Linked DNA regions of Homo sapiens: region 1 is linked to region 2. Evidence: promoter capture Hi-C in 16 types of primary human blood cells and fetal thymus (Javierre and others, 2016). All regions are on one chromosome and are shown on one strand. The core of a region is centred on a gene start or on the middle of the fragment in contact, and the rest is flanking DNA. Distances in the headings are between cores, read along the strand shown. Region 1 overlaps DLGAP5 (DLG associated protein 5). Region 2 holds the start of WDHD1 (WD repeat and HMG-box DNA binding protein 1).

What was found. Contacts are between HindIII fragments. The CHiCAGO score rates a contact against its expected background, and 5 or more counts as called.
Region 1: a contact is called between a fragment that was not itself captured here and the fragment with the promoter of WDHD1 in region 2, in 3 of 17 cell types (M1 macrophages, M2 macrophages and erythroblasts). The highest score is 7.4, in M1 macrophages.

Annotation. Positions count from the first base shown.
Region 1 is chr14:55,152,343-55,158,366 of GRCh38, reverse strand. DLGAP5 (DLG associated protein 5) reads left to right here. Exons shown (of 19, transcript NM_014750.5): 15 at 3,561-3,750; 16 at 5,720-5,777. Among named protein-coding and RNA genes, the nearest start is that of LGALS3, 26 kb to the right of the region's middle. The HindIII fragment of the contact is 3,616 bases long and covers 301-3,916 here.
Region 2 is chr14:55,025,788-55,032,223 of GRCh38, reverse strand. It overlaps WDHD1 (WD repeat and HMG-box DNA binding protein 1), which reads left to right and starts at 5,125. Exons shown (of 26, transcript NM_007086.4): 1 at 5,125-5,196; 2 at 5,421-5,513. The coding sequence starts at 5,437. It overlaps SOCS4 (suppressor of cytokine signaling 4), which reads right to left and starts at 4,988. Exons shown (of 3, transcript NM_199421.2): 1 at 4,753-4,988; 2 at 233-361. RefSeq lists enhancers at 4,249-4,775, 4,776-5,303 and a silencer at 5,098-5,147. The HindIII fragment of the contact is 4,247 bases long and covers 3,453-6,436 here.

The DNA of each region.
Region 1 (6,024 bases), core at 859-3,358, 130 kb before region 2:
CTCACAAACACTGTAAATCACATTTTGATGGGTATGATCAGATTAGTTTAAGTGCGATAAGTCTTCTAAGATTGCTTTTCTACTTTCTAAGTGATTTCACATCTGTAATGTAATTACCATGTAACCCTACAGTCTATGAGAAAGGTCACAGGATCCCAAGAGGTAAGAGAAATGACGGAAGCATGAAGAAGTAAACTGATTTTCTTCAGGTCAGTTAGAAGTTTGGTTAGAATTTATAATGCAAAGGAAACTTGAGCATCCAGCTATCACACTTGTCTAGCTGTGCTTTAAAATGAAGCTTATGTGCTGTGTGTGTTGGTTCATGCCTATAATCCCAGTACTTTGAGAGACCAAGGCAGGAGGATCACTTGAAGCTAAGAGTTTGAGACCAGCCTGGGCAATTTAGTGAGATCCCCTCTCTACAAAAAAATAAAATATTAACCGAGCCTGGCAGTACATGCCTGTAGTCCCACCTACTTGGGAGGCTGGGGCAGGAGGATCACTTGAGCCCAGGAGTTCAAGGTTACAGCGAGCTATGATTGTGCCCCTGCACTCTAGCCTGAGTGACAGAGCAAGACTCCATCTCTAAAAAATAAAAGGAAGTTTATGCAAAGTGGATTTGGTTTTATTTGCATTTGTATTAAAACTTTTGCTCAGATCTTTTTGAAAGGTAGTAAACGTACTAATTTTCCAATTTAAAAATATTCCAGTAAAAGCAGTTTTTAATATTCAGGAAATCATTTTTTTGTGATTTTCTCACAGTGTTTGTCATAGCTTTTTTTTCCACAGACTATTTTTCTTGAATTGAATTTATCTCAATTGAAATTATTTATTTATAAGCCATAGATGTCCACCAGGAAGTTTTTTCAAAGTAAACCTAAATTGTTCTCTAATACCTGCTATCTGATATTTATAGTGATCCTCAAGTATATTATAATATTCTTGTTAGTTTAGGTATCAAATCTGGTGTACTTTTGTTTCCTTTAAGCAGCTACACTCCCTGGATACCCAGGAATCTCCCACTACTGCTAATAACATGACTCCATTCTACTACTTGTCAAGGATCTTCGTGGTTTTTACAGCTATAAGCTCATCATTCTGTTCTTTCATATACTCAACTCAGTCCTTATAGATAGGGAGATTAAGGTTTATGGCAAAAATTGGTCATTTAAAATTGAGTTTTAGTTACAGAGCACATAGTTGATATGAGGCTAATTACAAAACAGTAGTCCCTGAAGAAGCCCTTCTCATTCCATTTGCCAATCCCTAGAAGCAACTACTTTCAATTCTTACTGGAGTCTTTTGGACTTACTGGAGTCTTACTGGAGTTTTGTTGTTTACCACCATCTCTCTTGACAAGGTTTGATCTTTTTCAAAAACACATTTTTCTTCTGGTAGACTTTTTAATCTTTCTTTCCTGTACTTACTGTTTTCTTCTACTTCCTGGAGATTTCCTCAACTTTCATGCTGGCTATCATGTTTTTAATTCCCAAGAGCCCTTTCTTACTCTCCAAATGTTCATTTTATAACATTCTGCACTTGTTTCATCAGTGTATTGTTTTATCTTTCCAAGGATATTAATGATAGCTTTTATGTTTTCTTCATCCACTATAGACAGTATTTGTTTCAGGGTACTTTCATCTAGTTGTTTTTGGTTTCTGTCTCTTGTATTTAGAGGCTTTCCTCGGGAATCTGGTGATCTCTCACTGCCTGCACATGGTTAAGAATAGGGCACTAAAAAGCTGACTGGAAACTCTCTGCACATGGGTAGGACCTTTACTTTCGGGGCCCTTCTGTTAGCGGGGCCATTATGCTGGGAACCTACACATCACTGCATTTAAGACTTTTCTCATAGTCTACTCAGATTCCCCAGAGAAGATGCTTTCCATCTGCTTCCTGGAAGGTATCATTCTGGCTGCCAGTCTTTCAGGAGCCATGTAGGGGAAGAAAGCTAAGTGTCTCAACACTTTGTGTAAATATTCACTTATTTCCCTTATTTTCCATGTAGTACCCTGTCTCTCAACTGTATCTGGTATCCTCTAAACCAGAGACCCTTCTGTTTTTGGTGATGGGGGTGGGTGATGACAGTTGCTTTGCTGTGCAGAATGAGGAAAGGAATCTGAGCTCTTCTTGTTTAAACTGACTTTGAGCCATTCCTTCTGTGTTTAGCTCCATTTTCATCTCCACTTGCAGAGATACTTGGAGCCACCAGTTCTTTTGAGGGGTTATGTGGTAGAAATTGGGTTGATTCTCATTTTTCTTTCTTTTTTTTTTTTGAGGCAGAGTCTCACTCTATTGCCCAGGCTGGAGTGCAGTGGCACGATCTCAGCACACTGCAAGCTCCGCCTCCTGGGTTCACGCCATTCTCCTACCTCAGCCTCCCAAGTAGCTGGGACTACAGGCGCCTGCCACCACACCCGGCTGATTTTTTGGTATTTTTTTAGTAGAGACGGGGTTTTACCATGTTAGCCAGGATGGTCTCGATCTTCTGGCCCCGTGATCCACCTGCCTCAGCCTCCCAAAGTGCTGGGATCACAGGCATGAGCCACCGCGCCCGGCCAATTCATTTTTCTTGATTGGTGGCTTAGAATTAGTTTTCTTGAGTCTGCTAAGTCCCACTCAACAATCTACATTATAGCTTCCAAAATATTGTTATTGTTGCTATCTCTTCTTTAGTTTCCTTTGTCCTTGTAGAGTTCTGCTTTTTAAGATTATCTGTGTCCAGGCACGGTGGCTCACACCTGTAATCCCAGTACTTTGGGAGGCTGAGGCAGGTGGATCACCTGAGGTCAGGAGTTCGAGACCAGCCTGGCCAACATGGTGAAACCTCATCTCTACTAAAAATACAAAAAATTAGCCAGGCGTGGTGGCGGGTGCCTGTAATCCCAGCTACTCGGGAGGCTGAGGCAGGAGAATCACTTGAACCCAGGAGGCGGAGGTTGCAGTGAGCCAAGATCATGCCATTACACTCCAGCCTGGGCAACAAGAATGAAACTCCATCTCTAAAAAAACAAAAACAAAAAAAAAGGTTATCTCTGTTCAGGCCTGGCGCAGTGGCTCACACCTCTAATCCCAGCACTTTGGGAATCTGAGGCAGGTGGATCACCTGAGGTCAGGAGTTCGAGACCAGCCTGGCCAACATGGTGAAACCTCATCTCTACTAAAAATACAAAAATTAGCCAGGCGTGGTGGCATGCATCTGTAGTCCCAGCTACTGGGGAGGCTGAGGCAAGAGAATCACTTGAAGCTGGGAGGCGGAGGTTGCAGTGAGCCGAGAGATCACACCACTGCACTCCAGCCTGGGTGACAGTGTAAGACTCTGTCTCAACAACAACAAAAAAATTATCTCTGTTCATGTAAAAGTAGTGGGATGTCAAAAGGAAGCAGCATCTAATATGCATTTAAATACTATCTTTAACAGAAAGTCCCAGGCATTTGTCTTTAACAGACATTATTTGACAGGAGAAAGAGGCTAATTGATAGGATTTTCACCGTATTCCTAGTTATAATGAAAAGCAAAAGAACTATTTGGTATTGAGGTGATTTCTCTCATCTTCTAGGACTTTCTGTCTCTTCTGAAGGCCCTTCTCAAAGACTTGGAACACCTAAGTCTGTCAACAAAGCTGTATCTCAGAGTAGAAATGAGATGGGCATTCCACAACAAACTACATCACCAGAAAATGCCGGTCCTCAGAATACGAAAAGTGAACATGTGAAGAAGACTTTGTTTTTGAGTATTCCTGAAAGCAGGTATTTCTTTAACATGTTAATAAGAGTTTAACAGTTGCTGATACTAAATACCATTTCAGATTGTTAAGATGGTAAAAGGTGCCAGACATATATTTTTAATAAATTTCATAATGACCCTGCAACATATAGGCAGTACTCCCTTTTTATAAATGAGGAAACTAAAGCTTAAGGTTTCAGGATACTAAATGGTCACGTTTAGTTGGGTAAATTCTGCAGCAGTAAGAAGAAAAGAAGCAATATGGTATCCTTTGGTGCTAAACATACTACAACTTTGGTGCTCAACAGTTCTGAGCTGAGAAGAGCTCTGTGACTTACTAGCTATGCAACTTTGGGGCAAGTAATTAATTCTCTTTAGCTTCACTTTCATCATCTACAAAGCAGCAGTGCTAATGCCTCCCCAAGGTGGTTGAGAGATGGACACTTTTTACCAGGCTTTGTAGAAAGTACCTTGAGATTGTTTTCTTGACAGATGGCAGAGCATATTGAAGGGGGGGGAGTTAATGTGTACTGAACAACTGTTATGGGCTAGATATGCTTCTAGATTTTTTTGTTTGTTTTTTGGAGGTGGAGTCTCACTCTGTTGCCTAGGCTGGAGTGCAGTGGTACGATTTCGGCTTACTGCAACCTCTGCCTCCTGGGTTCAAGCGATTCTTCTGCCTCAGCCTCCCGAGTAGCTAGGACTACAGACACGCGCCACCACGCCCAGCTAATTTTTGTATTTTTAGTAGAGACGGGGTTTCACTATGTTGGCCAGGATGGTCTTGATCTCTTGACCTCATGATCTGCCAGCCTTGGCCTCCCAAAGTGCTGGGATTACAGGCGTGAGCCACCATGCCCGGCCTACTTTGTATATCTTGTAGTTTACTATTGTTTGCTAAGAAGATTCATAATTGCATTTGAGTCATAAGTACTCTTTAAAAATGTTTTGGATTCCCCAAAACATCCTCAAAGGGCATCATACAAATAAGCAACTTTGTGTAATAAAGGCAAAGTAAAGCTGGACACTAGAAAAATAGAGCATATCTTTTTTAAAAAGTAACTTGAAAGAAGTGGAGATAAATTTTTTTTTTTTTTTTGAGACGGAGTGTCGCTCTGTTGCTGAGGCTGGAGTGCAGTGGCACTACCTCGGCTCACTGCAACCTCCGCCTCCCAGGTTCAAGTGATTCTCCTGCCTCAGCCTCCCAAGTAGCTGGGACTACAGGCGCATGTCACCACGCCCAGCTAATTTTTTGTATTTTTAGTAGAGACGGGGTTTCACCATGTTAGCCAGGATGGTCTCAATCTCCTGACCTCGTGATCCACCCGCCGCTGCCTCCCAAGTGCTGGGATTACAGGCGTGAGCCAAGGCGCCTGGCCAAAACAGATATTTCTAATAAGATACAAGCTAGTAACTTCAGGATTAGAATACCTTGTATTCTAACTCAATTATTGTCTAGCTGGAGTTAGCTACATTTACTTGTTAACAAGCAGCAGACTTAAGAACATTGTAACTCCTGTTCCGCTTTTTGAACTTTCGGATAAAATTATAGAAATAGTATGATTGAAGTCAAGTTTCTTAGCAGGTACCTGGATTAACAAGTAACGAGTAAATGTAGCTAACTCCAGCTAGACAATAATTGAATTGTTGCTTCTGTCTCCAGAAGTCACCTTCTTTTTGACTTTTCTTTAATATATAGCTCTGGATTTGGCTGAGATTCAGAGTATTGCTGGTAGAGCCACCTGACCCTGACTGACCACCATGGTAACAGACTTGTGAGCTTTCTGGGGAAGAATGCATTTAGTTTGTAAGGCCATCCTGCAGTAGCTATAGTCCAAAACTAATCTATCTGGATCACGCCTGATCTTGCACCAGGCTCCATGTTTGATCCATTCCCTAAACTAATTGCCATCATTAAAGGAAAGACTCAAAATACAAGTGAAACAATAACAATATGTTTATGAGTGTAATGCTGCTTTTTTTCTTCTTTAGGAGCAGCATAGAAGATGCTCAGTGTCCTGGATTACCAGATTTAATTGAAGAAAATCATGTAAGTACAATTCCAGTGTGGTTAGATAGCCCAGTATGTCATATGTTTATATCATTATAGAAAGTAACTTTGTAAAGCATCCCCAGAATTTCCGTTGGAAATCTAAATCAGTCATGTAGAATTGTAGTTCTTGTTTCAATGACATTTGGGTTGTTTAAAACCATAGTGTCATTTTGTATTCTTCAACTCATATCAGAATGAATATGGAACCAGTGAACTAGAGCAGAAATCAGCAAACTTTGGCCCC
Region 2 (6,436 bases), core at 3,876-6,375:
TGATGTAGGATAACAGCATTATTGCATACGTTAATTATTCATTGAACTACTTATGTCTATGATGCTGACATACATCTAACACCACAACTAATGTAAATACTAAATTGGAATACATTTGATCCTATAAAGAATAATTCAGTATACTACATTAATAATTCACAAATATATTATTATTCTGGTAGTAATTAAGCCTGGGGACTTTCCCTACGAAATTCATGATTCCAAAGTTTACCTGCCATCATGTGCCCAAAAACTCCTTGAAAGCATTCTGATCATAGTCCTTGATATTTGAGTTGGATTCTGTAGAAACACTTAGGCTCCACAAACGGAAGTCACTGGAGAGCAGACAACAGATGAACTCCTTGGAATGTTAAGAAAAAAATCTGAAAACAGGTTTGTTTGTATGGGAAAATATCTGACCTAAAAAACAAATGTTTTCTCATTACAGAAGCAATACAGGTTCATTTTCCAGTAAATATTTTAAAGTATCTCCTTTTTTCATGCTACTGAGCCAGGGCTCATGGGACTTAATTGCAATTTTCTAAAAAAGAATCATTGATTTAGTAGCACTACACCCTCCTTTCCCTTTCTCCCCACTTTTTCCATGCTTTCCTAATTATAGTTTGCTTATGTCACTTTTCCCCACTCTGTACTCTTGTGGACACTAGTTCTGAAAGATGTTAACACATATTCTGGAGAAAAAAAGGTTCTCTTGTCAAATAAGTTTGGGAAATGCTTCTTCTCTCAAAGATTACAGTGCATATTTAGCAAACGTTCCCAGGAGATCCTTCAGTAAAGAAATCTGCATAAACCATAGCTTCCTGTCTTTACTTTGCCATAAATCCTTTTGTGGAAGAAAGTTTGGGGAAACATTAATGGGCTAATCTGTTAACATCAGTGTACATTCCCTAAGCTTATTAGCTAAAGATAAGGAGAGAGGTCTAGGAACCCATCACTGAAGGGGCTAATCTAGAGTGAAGAAAGCAGAAACTACGAGCTGGCAGTACCTGAACTTCTAAAAGCAGAAGGAAGATTAACAGAATTTAAGAAACAGAATATTTAAGATATAATACTGAACCATTTTATGGAATAAATTAGATTGAACAGATTTATTTTTTCTTCCAATCTGTAATTTGTTATGATAAAAACAATATATGCTCATTGTATAATACATGGACCATTCAGAAAAGTTTAAAAAGGAGGGGGAAAAAAGCTATAATTCCATTATTTAAAAGCAAGCAATTTTGACATTTTGGCTTATTTCCTTGAATTCTTTTTTCTTGTGAGACCAATTAAGCATAAAGAGAAAATTTTAAAGTTTTAAAGATCTGTAAAAAATTAACAACCTACACTGTTTTTCACTATACCATATTTGAAAATAAACATGGTGAAGATGAAATAGCATGAGCTGCTGAACTGTCAAATGTGGGCTACAATTCAGACTTTTCCACTCACTAGGTATGTTACCTGGTTTAAAAAAATCTAATTTAGCTTAAGTTCTCCCACTGTAAAATCTGGATAATGCCAGCTACCTCATGTTTTTACTGCCAGGAGTAAAAGGTATGAAAACAACATACACTGAACTTAATGAAAAGAAATATTAACTGCTTCCTAGTATTACTCAGAACTTTTCATGTTAGAAGAAGTACATTTCTAAAAATGAGAGGTGGGAACACTTTTTTTAAAGAACACTATTTTTTTAAGAAAAAGGGGAGGGGAAACAAAGGCTATATGTAAGGCTAGAAAATCTGCACAAAAACGTGCCTCAGAAATCTGAAGTCAAGGAGGCTCTTCCATTTCTGAAATATCACAAAGCACTTTATATTATTCCTGATGTTAAATATATTATTTTTAAAAAGTTTTAAATTCTTTAAAACAAAAAATTGTAGTTTTTTAGAAGCTTAGTAAATAGATTTAAGTAGAAACAGGCAAAGATTTTATAAGATTGTATTATATTTTCTTCACTGCTTTATAACAATTACATATGCTTACATTTAAGGTTGGGTAACAAGTTTTACGTACAAATTAGTAAAAGGTGACTCTACACTTTATGTTTTACTAAATTCTAAGTTTTGTGGCAACAGCTATGATTTGGAGAATCAGTGCGGTAGACTACCTTGGACTAGGTGAAAGACCTGGGTTCTATTTCTAGCTCTGACATTTCGCAGGTGTGTGACTAGATAAAGACTAGATAAATCACAACTTTTCTGTTTTTCTATCTATATAACACTGATTATCTCATCTTGCTGTAGTAAGGATCTAGTGTTAATGTAATACAAGAATCAAATACTGGCTGTCTTTAGCCAGGGGAACTGGATGGCTGGGAGTATGAGTAGGAGGACGACTTTTACTGTATTGCCTTTTATATCATATTAAGTATACATACAGACAAGTACTATTTACCCCAAAATTATTAAATAGGCTAGTAAGTTTCAGGACACATTTGGAAATATAAAAATCTTCACATTTCTAAAGTGCCTTCAATGTTTCTTTTTTCAATACTTTGGTCTCCTTGGCTATTGTTACACTCTTCTAGCCTTACCTTTCACAAGATTAATCATTTTTACACCAAGTACATATTTTACTAGAAAATAATTTTTTAAACTCCTTCCATAAGCCAATACTGATATATCCTCTTAGATAAATCCTGTAAGATCACATGATTTTATATAGGTAATACCATCATTGGTAGAATGGCAATGTACCCATGTTTTCTCACCCAATTGTCCTTGGGAGCAAAAATATTTGTGAGTCTAAGGGTAGTATGAGTGGTTACAACACAGCAAAGCTAACTAACCATCACTGCAATTCAATCTGTGACTTTGGCATCATTTTCAGTCAGTTCATTTAGCCACCCACACCTATGAGATAAGCACTGTTAATGACAAATAACTACATTTGGAAAATTTTTGATACTCCTATCAGTGACACAGCTACACTGATTTCTTTTTAAAAAACTATGTTATTTTAACTAACTAGACAATTTTGCTAATATTTAAGTTACACATCTTTCATTACTGCACTATCATCTTGATCATATTGTTTGAATGTCTATTTCCCTCAGCAAGACCATAAACTCACTGAAGGTATTACAATTTGTAGCCATTTGACTGAAACAAATGGAATTGTGAAAACATGATACTAGCAAAAACAAGAATACATTTTTTAATATTTGAAAAATTTACTGGATAATTATTTAAACAAATCCCACTTTAAACAAAAAACACTAAATACCCACCCAAAGCACCCCTTTAGTAACATGAGATATTAATAACAATTACTTTTATACATCCATGAGTATCTCCTATATACTCTAACAATGCGACGGAGGTAGGTGTCATCTCCATTTTAGAGATGAGGAATTCGATTTTCAGTAAAGGAACATATTCAAGGTCACACAATGTGTCAGTTAGAATTAAAACCCAGGACTGTTAAACTCGGAGGCTCAAGCTTTTACCATACATGCAAAATCTGCAAAGAAAATTGTTCTTTAACCTATGAATCAAATGGCTTGATTGATAAGAGAAAATGACAGATGTGTGGACATCAATCATAGTCTCATGGGTATTACAGATATTATAGTGAAGGCATTTTGTAGCTATAACTTGTTCCAATTTGCAGATTCTTCTTATGCTGAGCTCTGAATAGTACTAACCAGAAATCTCACCACGCTTTATTCAACATAGAGACGAATATTATGAGAGTTCATCTTGAACTCTATGTACTCTAGCCAATGATATTGTTACTTGAACGAAAAAATTTATAAGCCAGTCTATCCAAAAAACAAATGATCTCCAAAAAAAAAAAATTAGGTCACTCAGAAAGCATCATCTCTGGTACCACTGCTCTTTCGGGAGATCAACAGTGGGTTATTTTTCCACAAATCCCAAGTTGTTTTTAAGCCAATCATTCTTCCTCTTCATTCATATACAAACCTCAGCGTCTAGCAAGGCTATCTGGAGCTCTAGTACTAAAAACAACGCCTCACACAATGCCACCCACGGTAAGAACACGACGGTTTGCCTGTGTGTTTGCAACTTTTCACAATGGAACTAGATTGAAAAAAACAATAGGGAAACCTCTTCAACAGAAAAACGTCTCAGGTAATAAAATAAATGTGATTGATACTGGAAGGTATCACAAAAACGCAGAAAAATTCTCAAAGATAAGTACAAATGAAAGAATATCATTCTGAAGGTTTTCATCACAGGCTGCTGTACCAATATGGAGAATGAAGATACAAGAAAAGCATAAACTTAAACTTAGTGGCCAAGACTTTAGCAGATATTGCATGGATCAAATGTAAGTGCTCAAGGCTACTAAGTTATAACTCTTCTTTTGGTTATAAATATTCACTTCAGTAAACTTTAGGTGGGATCTGAATAGAGAACACAAGTTACTTTCTTCATAACGGATATATAGAGTCGCAAAGAATAAGCATTAATTGAGCATTAATTAATTATACCTTCAGGTACCAAGAGAACCAACCGGAACAGAAATTAAGTCATTCCTTCTTTATCTCTACAGAAGCGACAAGGTGAGGGCACGAAGGATGCCAAGATTAGAGGCTCTAGAAGATCTCGCCTTCTTTTCCAGAGAAGATGCTCAAAGATCTGTCTGCTAACTGGGCCCCAAGAAAGAGACCGGATCCTTTTAGGGATCCGGATATTGTTTCCTGGGAGGAGAGCCTGGAGGGCAGGAACAAGACCCCGGCCTGCGAGGCCAGGCAGCGGCCACCCTTCCCCCACTCACCTCCCGGAGCGCAGCTTAACTGGGGTTGTGCGAGTAACTGCTGCCATCACCATCGCCATCAGTCTGGGCGCTTGCTTAAGTGGAGAGGGGAGGCCCAACCACTCCTGCACCTCGTGTAGGTCTTACAAAGCAGATGCTTTTCTGCCACCCCCAACCCCGCTTCGGCGTTCCGGTCCCAACCCAGCCGTCACGGTCATCGCCTCCGCCGGTTCCCTGGGCGCCGCCACCACTTCCGTGTTCAGCTCCCTCCCTTCCTCCCTGATTTGCCCGGGCAACCGGCTAATTTCCACGCGGAGGGCGCCGCAGCTGACGCCACCACCCGGCGACCTCTGTCGGGACCTGCGCTGGGCGTGGGCGGGTCGGCGCAGGCGCAGTGTGGTGAGCGAGCCGAAGCGCGGGAAGCAGCTCTTGTGGATCCTCAGTGGCGGAGGCTCGGTCACCCGGGTGAGTCCCCACTCCGGCTGCCCGCGTCCACCAAGGAGATGCGTGTTCCCTTTCCGGCTTATTGTCTGACAGACCCTCTGCCTTATCCCGCTGGTGTCACTCGGGTGGGGGAAACCGGGCTGCGGAGAACGGGCCCTAGAGGAGACTAAGCTCTCTTCCTATCCCTAGCCTCGCTGCTTTTCTCTTTTGAAATAATAAGACTGGCTTTTATAAAACATTTTCAGATAGGTAAAGGAAAACATGCCTGCCACACGGAAGCCAATGAGATATGGGCATACAGAGGGACACACGGAGGTCTGTTTTGATGATTCTGGGAGGTAAGGTTCTTTGAGAAACAACGTTTTAGGTGCAAATGTTAAAACATTTATCCTTAAACTTTATATGTGCAGTCAGCTAAAAATGACTCATGCGGATAGAGGAATAATGTTGAAATCTAAAATGGCACACATATTTCTTTAGATTATTGTTTGATTCGGGCCGTCATGGTAGTTGTAGTATATCGACAAAGTTATAATCGTACTTCCAGAGGAGTTGGAAAGATGCGAGCTTCTCTCCATATATTTTCCCCTTCCCTGCATCTTACATTATTAATTTTGTCAGATCACTAGTTACTGCCTACTTGTCAAATTCAGTGGCCTGTTCTGTTTGGAATGATATCCTTCCATGCCTTTAGTGATGCTATTTCCCTTTTTGCTTATTTTTTTTTAACTTTTTGACGGCTTAAAACAATTTTTTCCTCTGATTCCTAAACTATAATATTTTCCTACGGTTATTCTGGTCCCTTTTATCTTTCCAAGTCCCATTCTTACGCACTACTGCTCGATTGCACGGCTTCCACTGTCGCTTCTATGTTGATTGATTCATTGAAAAAATACTTGTGTGTCTCTTTTGCTGGGGACTACAGATAGAATAGAGCGAACCAGACACAGTCTTTTCCTCCTTTGAGCTTAAGGTCTTTTTGGATTGACAGGCATTGAACACAAATTAATCACAAAAATAAATGTGTATTTAGAAACAAGTAATATGTGCAGTGATAAACATGTATGAGGAGAAGCTCATCTAGTTAAAGGAGTCAGGGAAGGCTTCTTTGGACAAGTGTTTCTTGAGACGCCATCTGAAGACGGAGCAGGCATTAAGCAGTATAAAGAGATGAGTGGTGGTGGCGGTGGGGTGGTGATGTTGGCATAGTAAGCAGAGGCAATACTGTGTGTAAAGGCCCAATGGGGCCAGGGATCATGGT